3 separate regions of the Homo sapiens genome follow, and all the other regions are linked to region 2. The links are contacts of gene promoters, found by promoter capture Hi-C in blood cells and fetal thymus (Javierre and others, 2016). All regions are on one chromosome and are shown on one strand. Each heading gives the region's core, a stretch centred on a gene start or on the middle of the fragment in contact. The rest is flanking DNA. Distances are from core to core; before and after follow the strand shown. Region 1 overlaps MIR762HG (MIR762 host gene). Region 2 holds the start of ZNF629 (zinc finger protein 629). Region 3 overlaps CTF1 (cardiotrophin 1).

Region 1 (3,312 bases), core at 222-2,721, 99 kb before region 2:
CCTTCACCTCCTCCTCTGGGAGGCCCAGGACCCCTCTTCCTGCTCAGCCCTCGCCTGGGCCTAACAATTATCAAAACTCTGGGTAGCTAGGCCATGATTCTTTTTTTTTTTTTTTTTTTTTTGAGACACAGACTTGTTCTGTTGCCCAGGCAGGAGTGCAGTGGTGCGATCATGGCTCACTGCAGCCTTGACATCCCACCTCAGCCTCCCAAGTAGCCGGGACCACAGGTGTGTGCCACCATACTCAGCTAATTTTATTTATTTATTTATTTATTTATCACTATTTTTTTTTAGAGAGTTTTGCTCTTGTTGCCCAGGCTGGAGTGCAATGGCGCAATCTCGCCTCACTGCAAACTCTGCCTCCTGGGTTCAAGCAAGTCTCCTGCCTCAGCCTCCTGAGTAGCTGGGATTAGAGGTGCCTGCCACCACGCCCGGCTAATTTTTGTATTTTTAGTAGAGACTGGGTTTTGCCATGTTGGCCAGGCTGGTCTCAAACTCCTGACCACAAGTGATTTGCCCGCCTCGGCCTCCCAAAGTGCTGGGATTACAGGCATGAGCCACCATGCCCAGCCTGCTAATTTTATTTTTTGTAGACATGGGGTCTCGCTACATTGCCCAGGCTGGTCTTGAACTCCTGGGCTCAAGTGTTCCTCCTGCCTTGGCCTCCTAAAGTGTTGGGATTACAGGCGTGAGCCACCGCGCCCAGCCTATTCACGTTTCATACATAATAACACAGAGGCCCAGAGGGACTTGGGGGCCTGGGATGACCAACCCATTCCCTGCCCTGAAGAAGCCACTCCTCCACCTGGGATGCCTGGCCACACTTCTGGTTGGGTCTAACTTATCCCCATCTCAATCACCATCTCCTCCGAGAAGCCTTCCCTGACTCCAGGCTCAGTGAGTTTCCCCTTTTTTGAGCTCCAGCAACCCCTTGGGCTTCATTCTCCTTGTTTCATCATTTATCAGGCTGTTCTGGGATCCGTGGTTTGTGTGTCTGTCTTGTCTACGAGGCTGTGGGCTCCTGAGGGGTCTCCACACAACACTGGGAACAGGGCAGTCCCAGCAGCTGCTTCATGAATAAATGAATACATGAATGGGCTGGGGTTTTCCAGGCAGGCTTCTCTGAGGAGGTGGCATGTGAGCTGGGCTCTGAGACATGAACCTCTGTGCTAGAACTCAAGTCAGAAGCCCTGGTTCAAGTCCTGGCTCTGTTACTCCCTGAGTGGCTCTAGGCAGGCTGTTTCTACTCTCAGCCTTAGTTTGTTCATCTGAGCAATGGGAACAATAACTAGGCCTCATCTGCCCCAGGGGTTTGTGGGAAGCTTCGAGTAATATAAGGCCCTCTCACTCTGTGCCTATAGGGTCATGTATATTGGCCCTATTTTTATTTTTAATAAAGAAAGATACTGAGGTTCAGAGAGGACCAAATTGGAACTTTAAAGAAGCATTAAAAACTGTAGGCTAGGTGTGGTGGCTCACACCTGTAATCCCAGGCCTTTGAGAGGCACAGGTGGGAGGACTGCTTGAGGCCAGGAGTTTGAGACCAGCTTGAGCAACAAAGCAAGACAAAAATGAAAAAATTAGCCAGGCATACTGGTGCGCGCCTGTAGTCCAAGCTTCTTGGGAGGCTGAGGTGGGAAGATTGCTTGAGCCCGGGAAGTTGAGGCTGCAGTGAGTGATGATTGCACCACTGTGCTCAAATCTGGGCAACAAAGCAAGACCCTGTGTCTAAACAAACAAAGGAAATGTAAGGATGCTTCCGACAGCAGCTGCAGTGGTGTTGGTGGAGCCAGTGCTGTCCAGGGAAGCCAGGCTTGCTGCAATGTAGTGTAACTGTTTCTTATCACTGCTGTAACAAATTGCCACACATATAGGGGCTCAAAGCCACAGACATTAGCCAGGCACAGTGGCTCATGCCTATAATCCCAGCACCTTGGGAGGCCGAGGTGGGTGGATCACCTGAGGTCAGGAGTGTGAGACCAGCCTGACCAACAAGGTGAAACTCCGTCTCTACTAAAAATACAAAAGTTGGCTGGGCATAGTGGCGGGCGCCTGTAATCCCTGCTACTCGGGAAGCTGAGACAGGAGAACTGCTTGAATCCGGGAGGTTGCAGTAAGCCGAGATCGCACCACTATACTCCAGCCTGGGTGATGGAGCAAGACTCCATCTCAAAAAAAAAAAAAAGAAAAAGCCACAGACATTGATTCTCTTACAGTTCTGGAGAAGTCCAAAGTTAGTCTCACTGGGTTAAAGTCAAGGTCTCAGCAGTAGTTCCCTCCAGAGGAGGATCTCTTTCTTTGCCTTTTCCGGCTTCTAGAGGCTACCTGCAGTGTAGCATCTTCCAATCTCTCTCCATCGTCACATCTTCTCTAACTCTCCTGCCTCCTTCCTCCAAGGACCCTGTGATGACACTGGGCCCATTTGAATAATCTAGGACACTCTTCCTATCTCACAATCCTTAGTTTCATCACACCTGCAAAAGCCCATGTGCCATATAAAGCAACACATGCACAGATTCTGGGGATTCAGATGTGGACTTCTTTGGAGGGCCATCTTCATGGTAATGTCGGCTGTTTGCTGGGTGTGTGGCCACCTCATGACTCCCCTCAACCACTCCCGAGGGAGGAGAGTGTTCTGTAAATGGGAAAGTCCCTTGTGTGGGTTAGTGGTGCAGTGTTGAAGCTCAGAATTCAGGTTCCGGGTTTGAATCTCAGCATCTGCATTCATTTGTTGTATCACCTTGAGCAAGTGACTGAACCTTTCTGTGCATCTGTTTTCTCATCTATAAAATGGAGATAATAGGCCAGGCATGGTGGCTCACACCTGTAATCCCAGCACTTTGGGAGGCTGAGGTGGTTGGATTACTGAGGTCAGGAGTTCAAAACTGGCCTAACCAACATGGTGAAACCCTGTCTCTACTAAAAATAGAAAAATTACTTGGGCATGGTTGCGGGGCATCTGTAATCTCAGCTACTCAGGAGACTGAGGCAGGAGAATCTCTTGAACCCGGGAGGAGGAGGTTGCAGTGAGCTAAGATCACGCCATTGCACTCCAGCCTGGGCAAAAGAGGGAGACTCTGTCTCAAAAAAAAAAAAAAAAAAAAAACAAATGGAGATAGGAGATAATAGTGACATCAGCCTGATGAGAGTATTCTGAGAGTTAAATTAGGCCACACATGGAGAGACAGCCTTTGGCCTGGGACGTAGTAAGTGCTCAATAAATGGCAGGTTTTGTCCTATTGCCCCATGTTACAAATGAGGTTACCAGAGACTCTCCTGTCCCTGAGGCTGGGGACAGAAGCCTGGCCCCAG
Region 2 (3,222 bases), core at 434-2,933:
ATTTTAGTAGAGATGGGGCTTCTCCATGTTGGTCAGGCTGGTCTTGAACTCCTGACCTCAGGTGATCCACCCACCTTGGCCTCCCAAAGTGCTGGGATTACAGGCATGAGCCACCGCGCCCTGCCCAGCTAATTGTTTTTAAGTTTTTTGTAGAGACAGGGTTTCACTATGTTGCCCAGCCTTCAAACTCCTGGGCTCAAGTTACCCTTCTGCCTCAGCCTCCCAAAGTGCTGGGATTACAGGCATGAGCCACCAGGCCTGGCCTTTAGCAATTTTTTCTCTTTCCTGTTTTCTCTTTTCCTTCCTTCCTTCCTTCCTTTTCTCTCTTTCTCTCCCTCCCTCCCTCCTTCTTTTTTTTTTTTTTTTTGCGACAGGATCTCACTCTGTCGTCCAGGCTGCAGTGCAGTGGCTCAATCTTGGCTTATTGCAACCTCTGCCTCCCGGGCTCAAGCGATCTGCCTGCCTCGGCCTCACAAAGTGCTGGGATTATAGGCATGAGCCACTGCGCCTGGCTAATTTTTGTATTTTTAGTAGAGACATGGTTTCACCATGTTGTCCAGGCTGGTCTCAAACTCCTGACCTCAAGTGATCCGCCTGCCTTGGTCTCCCAAAGGGTTGGGATTACAGGCGTGAGCCACCGCACCCAGCTGCCTTTAGTAATTTCTGACCTTTGGTTTATTCTTCCCCCCAGCCTCTCAGTCTCTGGACAGAGCCCTCTGCACGCTCCCAGGATTCCTCTGTGTTTGTAACACATACACAATACCAAACTTCCCAAGGGTAGAAAGCCCAATTTCCATGCATCTCAGAGGTATGCCCACCCCAGTGTTAACCACAGTGCCCAGGAATAATAATGCAGTGTGTTGAACTGAAAGAATCAGGTGGCCTTAAGTACACCAGTCGCTTCTCACACCTTGGTTTCCTCCCCGGTGAAATGGGGATGATGGGCAACCTTATCCCATGGGACTGTGATAAGGAAGACAAGAAAGAAAGGCTGTAAAAATTGCGAGCATAGATAACTTGGACGTTGAGAGGCCACCAGTGTTCCTGGGTTTTTAAAGGTTTCTTCTGCTGTGAGCCGGGTGCCCTCTGAGCTATGAGAAAAGAGGTTCTCCCTCCTTGGCCAGGGAACCCCCACTGGCTTCTTTCCTGCCACCGTGAGCCTCAGTTTCCTCCTCTGAGGGGAGGTGTTTGGAGAAGAGGGGCTGGAACACAGGCTATTGCAAATCCTTCCCGGCTGTGCTTGTTCCTGCAGTCCCAACTCCTGCAGCCATGACTTCCATCAAGCATTAAGGCCATGTTTAGTGCGTAGGGTGTTCCCTCTCAGGTCTGCTCTGCCAGCCCCTGCTCCCACCCCAGCCCCATCCCAGGGTTAGTCCAAACAAAGACTGGCCTCAGGGGATCAGCAGCCGCCAAATCTGAGATAGGGCTTTCCGGGCGCGGCCGGCGGAGCCCCTGCGAAATGAAGAGCGGCCAGAAGCCCAGGGACCCTCGCGGGCATCGGGGCTCTCCCAGATGCCCACGCTGCCTGCTCCCACTGGAGACGGGGACAGGGGCGTCGTCCCAGCCTCCTCCCTGCTCCCACCGCTGTCCCCTTTTTTCCCCAGGCTGCGGGAGGCAAAGGGTTAAATCCCATAGAGCTGATGCTCTGACTCCAGGCTAGAGGGGCCCGGGAAGCTGGGGTCACTTCCTGCTCCGTCCCAGTCACCCTGAACTGGTCCCCGGGTCCTCAGCCTGGAATCACCCCTTGAGAAGGACCCCAGAGTCCTCGGCGCCCAGTCCGTCCCCCGAGGCAGGGCACTGAAGGGGTTAAGTCCCCTGGGGCTGGATTCCGCCTTCCGGCTTTTCCCAGACCCCAGAGCCGTGAGTTGGGGACGCCTGGGTTCCCGGGGGGTGGCCTGGAGTGCCCGGGACGGCCGCCGGGGAACAATGGGGCCCGGGAGGCGGGGGCCGGGAGCCCGGGCCTGAGCCCCCCACCCGCGCCCGGGGCTGTGGCCGGGGTGGGGGCGGGCGGGGGGCGCGGAGGGCCGAGGATTCTGGGAAGCGCGGGGGTCGGTGGCGGGGGAGGGGAGCCTGGGGATTCTGGGAAGAGGGATCGGCCGGGGCCGGGGACCAGCGCTGCCAGCGCAGCCCTGGAGGAGCCTGGCAGTGCTGGAAGGAGCCGGGACCCCGGGGGCCGGGGCAGGGGCGGATGCCCAGGCTCTGTATCAGCAGCGGGACGGGGGTCGCGGCTCCGGGGGAGCAGAAGTCCGGAGCCAAGCGGTGGGGGGGCCGGGCCGGGCGGCCGCATTCCCGCCGCCTCCATGTCAGGGTCACCCTGGGCCGTTCCCCACATCTCTCGGGAGGCGGCTCCTCATTCCCTCCCTCTGCAGTGGGGCCATCGCGAGGTCTCAGGCTGGCGTGCCTGGCGCCTGGGCTCCCAGCGCCTCGGCCTCCCTCGGTCTTCCCACGTCCATGCTCTGTGTCGGCCCTGTCATTAACCCTTTCCCTCCTACTCTGGACCACTAGGGGAGAATTTTTTGGAGACCATCGAGGTCCACAAACTCTTACCTGTCCCGAGCAAACACAGCAGGGCATCCTTCCCGGACCGGACATCAGGCAGCCCCCAGTGTGGCAGAGGTCTCCGCTTCCACCACCCCAAAGACACTTACAGGCGGGGAGGGGGGATTCTCGGAGCTTAAGTAGCTGCAGAGATGAAGAAATTAATTTACTTCCTAAACGCTAACTTCTGTCTCTCCTACCGCTCTTTGGCAGGGTGCAGCCAGTCTTGCTTCACCTTGGTCACCTCTCAGCGCCTCCTGCCATGTCTCCCTTGCCCCACTGCCCCTGTGCACACAGCGCCCACCTCACACAGCCATCCAAAGTTTCCAGGCCCCACCCAGGGATTCTCTGCAGGGTGTAAATGGTGTGGGACCTCCTTCAAGCGCTTTGTTCCTGTGGCCCCATTCCCTCATCCTGAACTCATCTCACCATTTTTGGAGTGACAGCTGGCTGTTTTTATTTATTTATTTATTTATTTATTTATTTATTTTACCAGGGGGCCACTTGGAACTCCTGCTCCTTTGCTGCCATCCCCTTGCAAACTGATCTTTAAAGGCATTAGACCAAACAGGTGTTCCAGGGGCTAGGGACATCTCACTCATTCATTCATTCAACAAAGTTTCTGGAGCACCTATTCAGTGCCAGGCTAGGCTTGGGAAACAGCCTCAAGAAAGCAGGACAAAA
Region 3 (3,139 bases), core at 301-2,800, 120 kb before region 2:
TCCTGCCACCGCCTTCTTTAAGACCTGGCACGCCCTGGATGACGGGGAACGGCTGAGCCTTGCCCAGAGGGCCATTGACCCAGCACCTCCAGCTCGTGGAGGACGACCAGAGCGACCTGAACCCTGGCAGTCCCATCCTGCCGGCTCAGCTCGGGGCTGCGAGACTCAGGGCCCAAGGCCTGCTGGGCAATATGGCCGCCATCATGACGGCCCTGGGGCTGCCAATCCCCCCAGAAGAGGATACTCTAGGGCTTGCTGCCTTTGGGGCCTCGGCCTTTGAGAGGAAATGTCGAGGCTACGTGGTGACCCGGGAATATGGCCACTGGACAGACCGAGCTGTGAGAGACTTGGCTCTGCTCAAGGCTAAGTACTCAGCATAGAGGGGTAGGACTTCCTGTCAGAGGCTGCAGCACTTCCTCTTTCACAATGGCCTCTTTTCTGCCTTGCTTGTGGGCTAGAAAAGGAGATAAACCTCATCTAGCAGATGGGGCTTGGGTGCCATGTATGGGAATATTTCCTGGGAGCCAGGCCTCAATTTCCTTATTTCAGGGCCTTCCGGCCCAGGTCCTCTGGCCTGCGTTCTAGGTCTGGGTCAACCTCCATGGATGCCATTCCATGGGTTACCCATCCAGTGGTACTGGGTGTCCACTTCCTGGTTGGAAAGATGCACCTCTCCAAAGAGGCTTCACCTGTCACTCTACAGGGAGAGGACAGTTGGTCCCCTTCCTAGGCTCTCCCTGAGACCTTCCCTTTTTTGTAATTTTGGGACGGTTGGGGCTGCCTTCCTGTCTCTGTCTGCCTCATTCGCTGTATGAAGAGCCCGCCTTTCTAAGCGGATAGGCTTCCTTCTTCCTGCTGAAGTTCATTGGCTCCCCTCCTTGGCCTGTCTCTCTGGGGCTACTGTTCCACTTCCTGTCCTCAGGGGCTCCACTTCCTGATCCATGGAAGCCCAATTCTTGAAGAACTAAGGACTGCATCACATCTGTTTCCTGTTAGGACACATCCACTTCCTGTTCTGGGCTGGCAGAGGGCACCACTGGCCAGGGGCTGTCAGCCTCCTATTTATACTGCTGGGCTTCTTGGGCATGTCTGGGGGACTAGGCTGCATCCCAAGGGTCCTTTTCTCCCTAAAGCTGTCTCCCCATTTTCAACAACTATATATACAAGTAACTTTAGTTTCTTTTTTATTTTTAAACATTTTATTTACAAAAAATTAATTTATTTTCAGAAATAAAACTCTTTTAAGGTGTTGCTTGTTTTGTCTCCACAGATCTGCTGGGAGGCAGTGGAGGTGTGCAGGGACAGGGCAGAGGGGCTGAAGGAAAGGAGGACATCAAAGGGACAGGGCTGAGGCCCAAAGGGATGGGGTGTGGCAGACTGGGGATGTAGGTGGAGTGAGCCTGAGGAAGGTGGCTGAGATGCAGAGTAGCCTTCCCCCCATAGGACCAGCAGGCACGCCCCTGGCCAGGGAAGCACAGAGAGACAGCCAGATGGGGACAAGGAGAGAAGGTGTCACCTCCTTGAGATAAGGCTGAGATGTACACATGTGCTCACACAGGGCCACGAGAAGGCAGGAAGTGGGGATGGAAAAAACAGAGACACCCCAAGAGCTGGGTAAAGGGGGAGGCCAAAGGGAACTGAGGCAGGCCCAAGGAAGGAGGGAGAGCAAGAAAATGGTAGACTCAGACGGAGTTACCATGCAGACGAGGAGGGTCCAAGAGTTAAGAGAACGGGGCAGGCAAAGCAAAGAGAGGCTGGGAAAGTGGCTCACGCCTGCAATCCCAGCACTTAGGGAGGCTGAAGCGGGAGGATCGCTTGAGCCCCGGAGTTCAAGACCAGCCTGGGCAACATGGCGAAACCTCGTCTCTACAAAAAATTAAATAAAAAATTAGCCGGCTGTGGTGGCGCGTGCCTGTAGTCCCAGCTGCTGGGGAAGCTGAGGCGGAAGGATGGCTTGAGCCCAGGAGGTTGAGGCTGCAGTGCTGGGATCGCGCCACTGCACCCCAGCCTGGGCGACAGAGACCCTGCCCGTCCCCTCCCCTCTCCCCCACAAAAAGCAAAGAAGGCCGAGGCAATGGAGACAGCTAAGAGCAGACAGACAGACACCGACAGCGGCAGAGAAAGACAAAGAAGCGGAAGGAGAGACGGAACCCAGCGGGAGGAGGCGGGGCGAGCTGCCCCGCGGCGCTCAGGCCGAGCCCCCGGGCAGCAGCTGGCCCAGGTCGCCCTCGGTGCGGCTCAGCCACTCGCGGTAGAGGCCGCAAACGCGGAGCCCCAGCACCTTGGCGGGGAAGACCCCGGTGGCGGAGGCGGCTGAGGCGGTGGCGGCGGGGGGCTCGGCCCGGGGCCCGCGGTTGGCGGCGCCCAGCGCGGCCAGCAAGGCCTCCACGGCGGCGCCCAGGGCCCGGGCCTGGCGCGCCGCGTCCTCCAGGCGGCGCAGCAGGCGCGGCGCGCGCGGGTTCAGCTCGGCCTGGCGGCGACACACTGCGTCCAGCAGCGGGGGCAGCGCGGCCAGCGCCGCCGCGTCCAGCCGCAGCCGCTCGTGCACTGGCAGCCCCGCGTGGCTCGGAGCCGGGGCGCTCAGGCCGGCCACCGGCAGCCGCGGCGGCGAGAAGCTGGGCAGCCCGAAGGGGTCTCCCTGGAGCTGCACCTGCGGAGACACGGCCGGCGGGTCAGCGGGGCCCCGGAGCACGGGCAGGGGGCTGTTAACTGGGCTCTCCAACCCGCTCTCTGGGGGTGTCAGTTTCCTCATCTTGCAGATGATAATCCCTCCTAACAGAGCTGCTCTGTTTAAGGCAAAACAAAGTGGCATGCGCTTGACACCAATGCCTGTTTCTTCCTCCCTAAACTGGACCCAGACTGGGCCAGTTTAGGTCAGCACTTTGGGAGGCCAAGGTGAGATAATCACTTGAGCCCAGGGGTTCGAGACCAGCCTAGGCAACACAGCAAGACCACAGCTCTAAAAAAAAAAAAAAAAAAAAAAATAGCGAGTGTGGTGGCGCATGTCTGTAGTTCCAGCTGTTCCGGAGGCTGAGGCTGAGGTGGGAGGATTGCTTGAGCCCAGGAGGTCAAGGCTTCAATGAGCTATGATGGCACCACTGCCCTCCAGCCTGGGTGAGAGTCAGACCCTGTCTCAATA

What was found. Contacts are between HindIII fragments. The CHiCAGO score rates a contact against its expected background, and 5 or more counts as called.
Region 1: a fragment that was not itself captured here is called in contact with the fragment with the promoter of ZNF629 in region 2 in 2 of 17 cell types (erythroblasts and M1 macrophages); the score reaches 5.7 in erythroblasts.
Region 3: a contact is called between a fragment that was not itself captured here and the fragment with the promoter of ZNF629 in region 2, in 4 of 17 cell types (M1 macrophages, M2 macrophages, megakaryocytes and 1 more). The highest score is 6.3, in M1 macrophages.

The regions. Positions count from the first base shown.
Region 1 is chr16:30,884,287-30,887,598 of GRCh38, reverse strand. All of the region lies in intron 2 of MIR762HG (MIR762 host gene), which reads right to left. It also overlaps a transcript of BCL7C not described here. Among named protein-coding and RNA genes, the nearest start is that of MIR762, 8.0 kb to the left of the region's middle. RefSeq lists an enhancer at 1-143 and a silencer at 2,575-2,654. The HindIII fragment of the contact is 294 bases long and covers 1,325-1,618 here.
Region 2 is chr16:30,785,666-30,788,887 of GRCh38, reverse strand. It overlaps ZNF629 (zinc finger protein 629), which reads left to right and starts at 1,683. Exons shown (of 3, transcript NM_001080417.3): 1 at 1,683-1,860. RefSeq lists an enhancer at 1,614-1,733. The HindIII fragment of the contact is 10,939 bases long and covers 1-3,222 here.
Region 3 is chr16:30,901,589-30,904,727 of GRCh38, reverse strand. It overlaps CTF1 (cardiotrophin 1), which reads right to left. Exons shown (of 3, transcript NM_001330.5): 3 at 1,181-2,650. The coding sequence ends at 2,189. It also overlaps the pseudogene CTF2P. Among named protein-coding and RNA genes, the nearest start is that of CTF1, 6.5 kb to the right of the region's middle. RefSeq lists enhancers at 1-140, 141-641 and a silencer at 2,203-2,702. The HindIII fragment of the contact is 3,666 bases long and covers 1-3,139 here.